Regions from separate parts of the Homo sapiens genome. Here region 2 is linked to region 1. Evidence: promoter capture Hi-C in human tissues and cell types (Jung and others, 2019). All regions are on one chromosome and are shown on one strand. Each heading gives the region's core, a stretch centred on a gene start or on the middle of the fragment in contact. The rest is flanking DNA. Distances are from core to core; before and after follow the strand shown.

Region 1 (5,028 bases), core at 1,451-3,950:
ACGCATATGGACACATATGGACACACATATGGACACGTGTGGATATGTGTGCGTACACGTCGCTGGGACACATGCCTGCCACTCGGGGCCCAGCTGCCCTCTGTGTTTGTCCTTGCCACAGTCACGGGGTGCATGTGCAGAGGGGAGCAGACCACTGGGGACGTGCTGTGCCCTGCACGTGCCCGGGGGAAGCGGAAGCTGCAGCTGGGGTGGGGGCAGCACCTCTATGCTTCATCTCTGTGGGTGGCAGGAGACAAAAGCACAGGGTACTATCTTGGCTCCTGGGAGCGACTCTTGCTACCCACCCCCACCCATCCCCTTCCCCTTGGTGTTGACCTTTGACCTGGGGGTTCCCAGAGCCCTGTAGCCCTCGACCCGGAGCAGCCTCTCGGAAGCCGGAGTGGGCAGTTGCTGGCGATTCTGAGAAAACTTGGCCGCATCCACCGGGGCCCTGCCTCCAGTCGGCCGCTGCCGAGTCTCTGCGTTCTGGCCGCTTCCCGGCTTAATGAATGCCAGCCATTTAATCATTGCTCCTGCCACCACAAATAGATGAGCAGTTAAATAAAACTCAACTTGGCATAATTCAAGGCAAATACCACTCTGTGCATTTTCTTAAGAGGACATGAGCTGTGTGAATTTTTAGCCAGCCTTTGGAAAAGATGGGTTACAGGGTAACTCAACCCTGGCTGCCATCCTTGGGCACTGTGTGTGTCCAGGGCACCTTGGAGGACCGTGCAGCCCCCAGAAGCTTCCAGCTCCCGCACCACTCAGTGAAGCCCAGCCTGGCGCCTGCCCTGCCCCCGTCACGGGATGGGCCCCCATTGGGGTTCAACATTCCATCGCAGCCAAAGGCAGTCGGCACTTGGGACATCTGCTTCCACGGACAGGTCACCTCCGCTTTGCACGGAAGAATCTGGATGCTTACATTAAACTGGTGTTCTGAGAGTTCCTACGGACAGGTCACCTCCGCTTTGCATGGAAGAATCTGGATGCTTACATTAAACTGGTGTTCTGAGAGTTCCTACGGACAGGTCACCTCTGCTTTCCATAGAAGAATCTGGACGCTTACATTAAACTGATGTTCTGAGAATTCCTACAGGCAGGACTGAAAGCCTGGTGTGTGCCAGTATGATGTTCCACCCACAGAAACCTGGTCACAATCGTCCCTTCCAGCACCCCATCCAGCAGTGACTGCACACACTGAGTCCCCTACCAGCCCCTTTCACCCTGCTGACTGTCACTGGGCCCTGGGATGCGCAAGACTCCACAGCAGCAGAGGTGGGGGGACATATCACAGCCTCTGCCCCCGGCTGTGATGCCACCGAGGGGCTCGCCTGCTGATGGCTTCAACAGGGTCTCACCTCATCTTTTCCTGCTCTTTGGCCCTGGATCGAGAAAATTTCCATCAGTGCCCCATTAATATGCTGCCCTGTGGCATCTGCCCAGGAGGCCCTGCCAGGCGTGCACAGGTGTGCATTGGTGTACCCTGGCATGCACAGGTGTGCACTGATGTGCCCTGGCATCCATTGGTGTACCCTGGTGTGCCTGCCATAGGACCCTGGGCGGGAGCTCCCATCTCATCTACATCTCCTGATTCATGCGTTGTTTCATAGGTTTCAATGTCTCTGTAAATGTGGTAGAAATGCAGGCTTTATGGGCATAAAGTGTACATTTCTAAATAAATCCCTTCTATTGAGTATGCTCACCCTAGAAGTTACTGTTGTCCAGACGTAGAGGGATGAGTGAGCCAGTGACCTCAGACGGGATGGTGGGGACGGCAGGTCCAGCTCCTGCCTCCTCCTGGGGGGTCTGGCTTTGGGGGCTTGCTCCGAAGAGGCCATGGCCCAGGCCTGTGGCCTCACAATGGGGACCAACCAGCTCTTCTCATCTTCTTCCCTCACACTTCCTCTCACTCAAATAAGAACCTTCCAAAAATGTGTCCACCTGGGCCCCTGCCCTGGGACTCATGGATTTGGAGTTGTGGCCACACGGTTGAGGGGTGCAGTGTCCAGTGGAATGGGGCAATTGCGGGCCTGGGGGCCCTTGGCCTGTCCGTGGCGGGAGCATCTGCAAGGAGGAGCCCCAGAGTCCAGGGAGCACTGTGGGGAGCTCCTTAGAGCTGAACTCACCCGGCGTCAACTCATCAACCCTCCACCCATGGACAGGGGTGCCCCCAGCACAGGAGAGGACTCAGCCCTCTGCCCCCACGCACGGTGGGTGCCTGTCACCCTGTCCTGCCCAGCGGCCCGAGGGCAGCAGTGGGTGTGAGGGCAGCCCCCGGCCTCCCAAGAGCAGCTGAGAGGATCCCTGCGGGAATCCGGGCTTCGGGTGCATGCGATCTGATCTGAGTTGTTTCTGACAGTGACAGAGTGACAATCTATAAGTATCTCAAGATCAAATGGTTAAATAAAACATAAGAAATTTAAAACGATTAAAATATGCCTCAGTCTTGGGAATCCTGGTGTCTGCAACAAAAAAACTTGAGGCTGTCCTTGCAAACGGTCCTCATGGTGCTGGGGGTGGTGCCAGGCCCGGCGTTTGCCTGGAACACAGAGCATGCGAGAAGGAGCAGAGGACGTGGGTGCCAGGGAAGGACCCTGGCGTCAGAGCCAGGGCCTGGACCTGAGTTACCCATTAACGGCACTCCACTGGTTTTCCTTTAAAGAAATGAATAAATACAACTGCAGTGGGGCTGCTTGTGGTTTCCAAACGTCGGCAGAGGCTGGAGACGGCTCTCTAGTGCTGGGTGTGGAGTGAGGCACCACCCTTGCCCTGAAGCCTGGGGCACTCAGTCACCATGGCTCATGCCCCAGAACCGGACCCGGCCGCCTGCGACCTCGGGGATGAGAGGCCCAAGTGGGACAACAAGGCCCAGTACCTCCTGAGCTGCACTGGGTTTGCCGTGGGACTGGGGAACATTTGGCGGTTCCCATACCTGTGCCAGACCTATGGAGGAGGTAAGCACCCACCTGCGTCCTGGGGCAGACCCCTAAGCAGGGGAGGCCGTCTCCACCCTGACCTGCCAGGCGCCTGCCACGCATCCCCAGTGCTTGGGCAGAGTCACTCCTCCTGGAAACCAGGGTGCACCATTGCCCACGGCAGAGTCAGTCCCCTCAGGGCCCACCTGCAGTCTTCTGGGACCTCAGGGCAGCTTCACCACTGCCCACAGCACGGAGGATCCAGTCCCCTCGGGGTCCACTATGGTCTTCCGGGACCTCAGGGCAGCTTCCTGCCAGGCGTCAGGTTGAATGGGCCGCCCTGCCCGACACACACACCCTACAAACAGTGAGCGCTCTTCCATCTGAATGTCGTCAGTTCTTTAAAGAACACACAATCCGCTCTGGGTTTCCTCACCACAGCCTTGGTGTGTCCAGACATGTGCTCAGGTGCCCTTCTCCGAGGTTCTTTGCAGGAATTTGGGGGCCCACCCCTCGCCTCCCTGGCTTTGGTTCTCTGGGAGAGCCCTGTGGGGGGTGCCAGGATGTTCAGAACTGTCTGGGTGACTTTAGTGACCTTGGACTCACCACCCCCAGAAGTGCATTGGTGACTGAAATAGGCTCCCACGCACCTCGAGCCTCCCCTCACCCTGTGCCTGCTTCTCTTCATGCAGGGGTCACACTCTGCTCTCCATGTGGCGACACAGGATGTAGGGACAGGCATGAATCACTGCTCTCAGGGAGCCGACGTACAACATCACGCATGGACACCCAGGTCTTCCCCAGGCAACACGGGCAGGGGCTTCCCAGGCCGCAGGGTCCTCCTCAGGCCAGGCCGGGCTGCTTGGTCAGCCTGTTCCCCGGGCCCTCAGCTCCTTCCCTGAGAGCCCCGCACAACTATCCCTTGTTATAAGGTTACTCCTTTAAAGTGTTTTTCCTCCTGCTTAAGAAAAGATTCTCAACAGGCAGAAAATGCAGGAAATGCGCACAAATGGAAAAAACAAAAAGAAACACCCGTCACTGCCACCCTCGGGGCACTGGGGTCTCTTTGGGGCTTTGGGGCTGGAGAGGGTGCATTGGGCCTTGGATCTTCTCATCATGAGAGTCCCTTTGAAGGCATTTCTGAAAGCACCAAAGCCCAAGGGCAGAGGCGTCCCTGGCTCCCGGGGCCCTCGCTGCCTGTGCTGCGGCTCGATCTGCTAAGAGTCACCAGAGCATGCAAGGTTGTGGGGGCAGCAGGCTTCACGCAGAGCTGGAAATGCCGGCCAACGCTTTACCCACCAACGCCTTGTTCGCCAATGCCTTGCCCACCGATGCCTTTCCTGCTGATGCCTTGCCCAACGCCTTGCCCACCGACGCCTTGCCCACCGATGCCTTGCCCACCGATGCCTTGCCCGCCGACGCGCCCAACGCCTTGCCCGCCGACGCCTTGCCCGCCGACACCTTGCCCGCCGACCCCTTGCCCGCCGACGCCTTGCCCGCCGACGCCTTGCCCGCCGACGCCTTGCCCGTCGATGCCTTGCCCGCCGATGACTTGCCCGCCGATGCCTTGCCCGCCGATGCCTTGCCCACCGAAACCCAGTTACCATTGCTAAGCGCCTGCAGTGTACTGGAAGTGTCTGGCACTAGCCTCCCTTAAACTCAGCTGCTCCACGCTGGGGCAAAGCTGGGGAGGCCCCCACCTGGGGTGCTGCTGAGGAGGGAGAACAGCCCTGCCCGCCAGCTGCGCGGGGACTTCAGGGCTGCTCCACTCATGAACGACTCTACCATCAATCTCCTGATGCAAGCCACCGGGTTGCATGTCATGAAACATCCAAGTTTATTTAACTCACACACTTCCTAAGGGCCGTGCCATCAGCATTCTCACCCTGTGTGTGAACATGCCCTTCACTTTGTCTCGCTGTGAGGATCACTCATTGATGATTTTGAAAACAAGATATAATTAAGAAGCAGGTACTGTGTAGCTTTTAACATTTGCATATACTCATGACTACCAAAGGCGAATATTATTTGCTCTCCCATTCATAAGTATTCAACTACATAAATGTTCTCTTCAAAGCTAAGACTTGTAAAGCAACATTGTAACAGAATG
Region 2 (5,527 bases), core at 3,028-5,527, 95 kb after region 1:
ACTCCTTTCCCGTTTGTGTGCTTAGCTGCTGCCAACAGGATGTGCTGGGTGAAGCCTTACAGAACACAGCCAGTTGTGTTTTATAAAGCAAGGCTCCCCTCCCCCAAAGACAAATAAAACCACAGGTGTGGAAGGGACACCCTCCACCGCACCCCGCCCTAGTAATCTGACACCGCAGGCAAAGGCACGGCCTGTGTGGGTAAGATCCATTGTAAACGTTTAAAACTTCCTGTTCCCTGATGCCTCAACTTCCCCGCAGACCGACGCACCTGTGATGGGCAGGGCCGTGTGACCTCGTGACCTTCACATACACCAATGAAGACCCTCACGCCTTCTGCTGTCTTTCCCCCACTGCTGACTTGCCTGCGGGCCCCCACTATCTGCCCTGCCTCTGGAGCCGCCTCCCGTGTGCCCCCCCAGGCCCCTTAAGGTGCTGTGCGTCCCATCTGGAACCGGCAGTTCACCCGCTCTCCCAGCCACCCTTCCAGACCCCACTTACAACACACGACTAAGTAACACAGTACAGGCCGTGTATTCGTATTTGTTTTCCTGTGCCAACTCATCTGGTATCTTCGTATTTTAATGAATAAAACTGAAAGATGACAACTTGAAGCCCCAGTGCATTCCTCTCAAATCGAGTGAAGTTTACAACACCTTAATTATAAAAGATTTATCTGATCCAGAAGAAAGCAGAGTGTACAGAAACTTCACTGTCATCTGCGAATGGACTGAGAGCATCTGGATTTGGTTCTCAGCCTGAATGAGCATCCTGGAATGGTGTGTCTCGTCCATTTACGTGGAGACACATGGAACAGGCCTGCAGGCTTGGGGCTCTGAGCAGGGCTCCCAAAGCCCCTCAGCTGCAAGGAAGCCAGGCCCATGAGAGGGGAGCCTGTTCCAGAAACACAAGAGGATGAAAGCTGTTATTGGCAAAGGAGACTTAGAGCAAGGAAATGACCAGGAATAAAAAAAGATTATATATTTAGAGGCCAGGTGTGGTGGCTCATGCCTGTACTCCCAGCACTTCAAAAGGCCAAGGCGGGTGATCACTTGAGATCAGGAGTTCGAGACCAGCCTGGACAACATGGCAAAACCACATCTCTACTAAAAATATTAATACAAAAAAGCTGGATGTGGTGGTGCACACTTGTAGTCGCAGCTACTCAGGAGGCTGAGGCAAGAAGATTGTGTGAACATGGGAGGTGGAGGCTGCTGTGAGCTGAGAACAACAAACCCCACAAAAACTAACTTCAACAAACATTAAACTTCACTACACACCGAGTCCAGCAGTTCTCCACCCATCTTTCTATTCCATTTCTCTCTCTCTGCCTCAACCTAGGGCAAGATAAGCTTGACCTGATGGGTCATGGCTCTGTACAATAGTTTAGTCTTAAACAACTAAGATGCTACGTATCTAAGAACACTCATGACTCAAAGGCTTGCAAAGGGCTCTTTAAATTTGCTCTTTTAATGCATAAATAAATCCATATCATGTATTACTTTCTGGAAAAGGGTTAAACTCAAATATCCGAAATACTTTCATTATACCAGGTCAAGAAAAATGCCACAGCCAGAAAAATTTATTTTAAAATAGAAACATACATTAAGCTTTAAAACAACCAACTCTCAAACAAAAGAGGAAAGAGCCTTTGATCCCAGAGTCCATGCGGAATGAATTCCATACGTGTTTGAAATTCACATAAGGAGCACTTAGAAAACCACCTGAAATGGAAATCCAACAGCCCCCTTGCCTGTGAGGGCTCCCACCCCTGCCCGCGTGAGGACATGGCCGAACCCCGGACACTCGTGTGCCGGGAGCCACCACAGCTCAAGGTGACCGGCAGCACCCAGCTCTGTGACCAAGACAGATGTTCACACGTGGGGGCATCGTAAGCGCTACCAGCTCCAAATCTGACGTGATGGGAACTTGGGAGATGTCTGAGAAATGTCCGAAGGGATTTTGGCAACACAGAAAACGCAATGTCTAGGAATTCCTCCAAATGCTTCCAAAAATACTCATTGACAATTCAAGTTGCACTTGGCTGGCGGCAGCCCGGGCGGCCTTCAGTCCGTGTGGGGCGCCCGCGTGGCCTTCTCCTCGTAGGACTCCCCAAACTCGTTCACTCTGCGTTTATCCACAGGATAAAGCCTGCAATGACACAAATGAGCACATCAGCAAACCCCACTGCAGGGGCTATTTTTCTAAGAGGAGGACTTGGCATCCTCGATTTATTTTCCAGTGAGCTGCCACAGTGAGCAAATTAACTAAAAAGTCGAATCCTCAGAAGTTTTACTGCCGAGGGCTGAGGAGGGATTTCTGAGTTGTGTTTTGTTCTGCATGGCCAGGCCAGCGTGCTGCTCTCAAGGAAAGGGAAGCTTGGCCGAAGGGACGACCCGGAGGCTGCACGGGCTGCCATGGCTGAAGGGGGGACCCGGAGGCTGCACGGGCTGCCTTCTGGGAACGGTGGCATCACGGAGACTCGAGTGATCAGAACAGGAACCGCTGTGTTCAGGGACCACGTCTCATCAGCTGTGAACACTTGGCAGGACACTGCCGCCGCCTTTGATCCTGAGCGCCCCGGAGGCCTTGCCAACATCACCCCTACGTATGGATGAGGAAGCTGTGGCATAAGGGGCAGCTCTACACGGCCGCGAACAGAAGTACAGGGTTTCAGCTTAAAAACAGACCTGCTGCCCACCAAGGGCCCTGTGATCCTGGCCAAACACCGTTTGCAGGTCTGGAGCCATTAACACAGAGCCTGAGTACAGCACAGTTTCAGGCACGCCCCGGGCCACCTGCGAGGACTTGGGAGCCACTTGAAGGGCTCACAGTTGAGACAACCACACCAGGCGCAGCAGCGTCCGGGGCTCCGTGGCTTGGACAACCTCAGGCTCTGCAGGGGGCAGGCGGCCAGCTGGGGGATCTGAGAATGGTGAACGGGGGACAGGAACCAAGCCCCGTGTGAGTGTGAGTGTTGCTTATGGTGAAATAGCCCTTCCCGCTGACACAAGCTGGAGCTCCCGTGCAGGGGCTGCACGAGACAGCAACAGGGTGGGGGGGGGCAGCCGGCGGCCAGGCCTGGAGAGCTGGGCAAGGGCGGCCATGAGCCACTGTGTGGATGTGCCAACTGCACCCGAACAAAGAGTTAAACCAGGCAGAACCATGCCAGCCTCATGCTGGCTGGGACAGAGGCTCTGAACACCTGGCGAGGTTGAGTGTGGAGACAGGGCGGGGACGGGAGCACTGCGCTCCCCAAGGGCCGGCACCCCGGACCTAGGCAGGACCCGCCAGGACGGCCTGGGGGAAGAGGATCCCTCTCCTGCACTAGTAGGATGGCCCCAGGCCCTGAGGGAAGGGCACAGGGAAGTGTCACAGCCGTGGTGTGTGAGGTGGCCTCCTGGTCGGGGGAGGGAGATGGGAAAAGGGACCTTGAGGGCCAGAGAAAGGACACAGCCAGGAGGCTCTGAGACACTTGGCAGCAGGTCTTGGGGGTGACACACACTCCTTCGACCCCTGGACAAGGCCCTGGGGCCGGCACTGGAGGTGAGGGCAGTGCTTGCAGTGGTCCAGATGCAACCCTCCCGAGGGGAGCCCCAGATCCCTGGCTCCTACCCTGGCACAGCAGAGCTGGAGGGAGGTTTTGCTGACTGAGAGGGCAGATGTCAGCCCTGGAGGGAAGCGGGAGGCCCAGGGTGGGGCCTGAGCCTCTGCATTTGGAAAATTCCGAGGCCCGGGGTGGGGCCTGAACCTCTGCCTTTAGAAAATTCCACAAAGCCTTTTCCTCAGCCGTCAGCCTTCAACCTGAAGGCCAAGCTGAGAGGTCCACGCAATGCAGTCTTCAGAGGCCCTGGTGGCTGGTTTAAGGGGTGCGGCCAATGCTGAGGTGAGTGAGCTCCCCAGTGACATTGTGCCCTGCAGGTCCACACTGCTGGCTGGACACTTCGAGGCTAGCGCCAAGTATGGATTAGCCATGCTACGGTCTCTGTTCTGCTCAATAGCAATGACTGTGAATAGGTAAATAAATCGCTTAAGGAGAGACATTTGCTTTCAGTGGCTCATCAATAATTCACATAGAAACGAGCATTTCTAAAGCACAGTGAGGAGACAGAGCTGGAACAGTTTCTTGCCAGGACATATCATGGGCAACTGGAACCCAAGTTTAGGCAAGACAGGAAAAACCACCACCTGCAAATTATCTTTTCCCTCAAATGGATAAACAGGCGCAGGGTGCGGTGAAAGCCGTCATTCCGTTCAGCAGCAGCCACGCCGCTGAGACGGAGCAACGGCCGAGCATACGCAGCCGCACTCACCACCGCTGGTACAGGTAGACCAGAAACACCACGTCGTCCCGGAAGCAGGCCAGCCGGTGAGACGTGGGCATGGTGATGATGAAGGCAAAGACGTCATCAATGAAGGTGTTGAAAGCCTGCAGGGCCAGACGGGAGGAGGGTGAACCCCAGTTGCTGGGGCTGGAATCCTACTGTTTTTGGTAACCTAACCAAGCCAACGGCTTTTGGCAGATGCTTGGAACTAACTGGAACTCCTCACAGCAACAACAAAAAGAGCAGAAAGCCGGCAAGTGGAGATACGGAGCTCTGTTCCCTCATGGGCTCCCCACAGCTGCTGGCACCCGACACACTGCGGGTCTTGCCCAGGCTCCCACATCGGGGAACCCAAAGAGAATGGCCTGAAACCAGAGCCAAGGCTGGAGCCGCCCGAGACAGAGCCAAGGGCAGAGCCACCTGAGACCAGAGCCAAGGTTAGAGCCGCCCGAGACCACAGCCAAGGGGAGAGCCAAGGGCAGAGCCACCTGAGCATTGCCCTTTCCTCTGGGAGCTTGTAATTGACTTCAGAAAAGTGCAAATCATGTCCCATTAACTCAGCTCCGCCTGCAATGCCGAGGCACTTCTAATCCCACACGGAGCCAAGGGGGCCTCCACAGCTCTGCCAGCGGGGAATGGCCACGGCCCATGGGGGCTTCCATTCCTGCCTGGGAGGCCTGAATCCGTTGTCCCCAGGCACCGGTTACTGAGCCACAGGGGGTCTGTGTCTTGACACATGTGCTAAGAAGAAACATAAACACTAAAAAAGAAAAAGAAAACCAAATCTGTGACAAGTGAGAGAACCACCCCAGTCTTTCAGGGTCTGAAGTTACTCTATAGCTCTTCGCTTTTTTTTTTAAAGGAGCCTCCTCAATATTCTTCAATGAAAGGGACAGGTGCAGATGCACTCTGGGCAGAGATGGCCCCAGTAATGCTGTTGGCTGGAAGACGCCCTTGCTCACGCTCTGCTCAGTGAGAAGGGATTCCTCACCGGCTGTCACACTCACCTTGTAGGTGAAGGCCTTCCAGGGCAGATGTGCCACTGACTTCAACTGAAACAGGAGAGACAGGCCCAGGTCAGCTGTGGGCAGCACAGGAGACGGGGGCCGGGCCGCGGGCAGCACACACCGCCTTACCTTGTAGTTCACAAAGAGCTGGGGCAGCATGAAGAGGAAACCAAAGGCATAGACCCCTGCAGAAAGAC

Evidence for each region. The method cuts DNA at HindIII sites, captures the fragments that hold promoters and counts their contacts. A contact is called where the count stands out against the background at its distance.
Region 2: a fragment that was not itself captured here is called in contact with the fragment with the promoter of SLC6A18 in region 1 in 2 of the 25 tissues and cell types used here (liver and thymus).

What each region holds. Positions count from the first base shown.
Region 1 is chr5:1,222,681-1,227,708 of GRCh38, forward strand. It overlaps SLC6A18 (solute carrier family 6 member 18), which reads left to right and starts at 2,701. Exons shown (of 12, transcript NM_182632.3): 1 at 2,701-2,957. The coding sequence starts at 2,798. SLC6A19 (solute carrier family 6 member 19) reads left to right here. Exons shown (of 12, transcript NM_001003841.3): 12 at 1-2,431. RefSeq lists an enhancer at 3,095-3,637. The HindIII fragment of the contact is 11,488 bases long and covers 1-5,028 here.
Region 2 is chr5:1,316,305-1,321,831 of GRCh38, forward strand. CLPTM1L (CLPTM1 like) reads right to left here. Exons shown (of 17, transcript NM_030782.5): 14 at 5,460-5,515; 15 at 5,331-5,375; 16 at 4,312-4,427; 17 at 1,448-2,149. The coding sequence ends at 2,065. Among named protein-coding and RNA genes, the nearest start is that of MIR4457, 9.7 kb to the left of the region's middle. RefSeq lists enhancers at 1, 292-441, 3,645-3,789 and a cis regulatory region at 3,717. The HindIII fragment of the contact is 8,012 bases long and covers 272-5,527 here.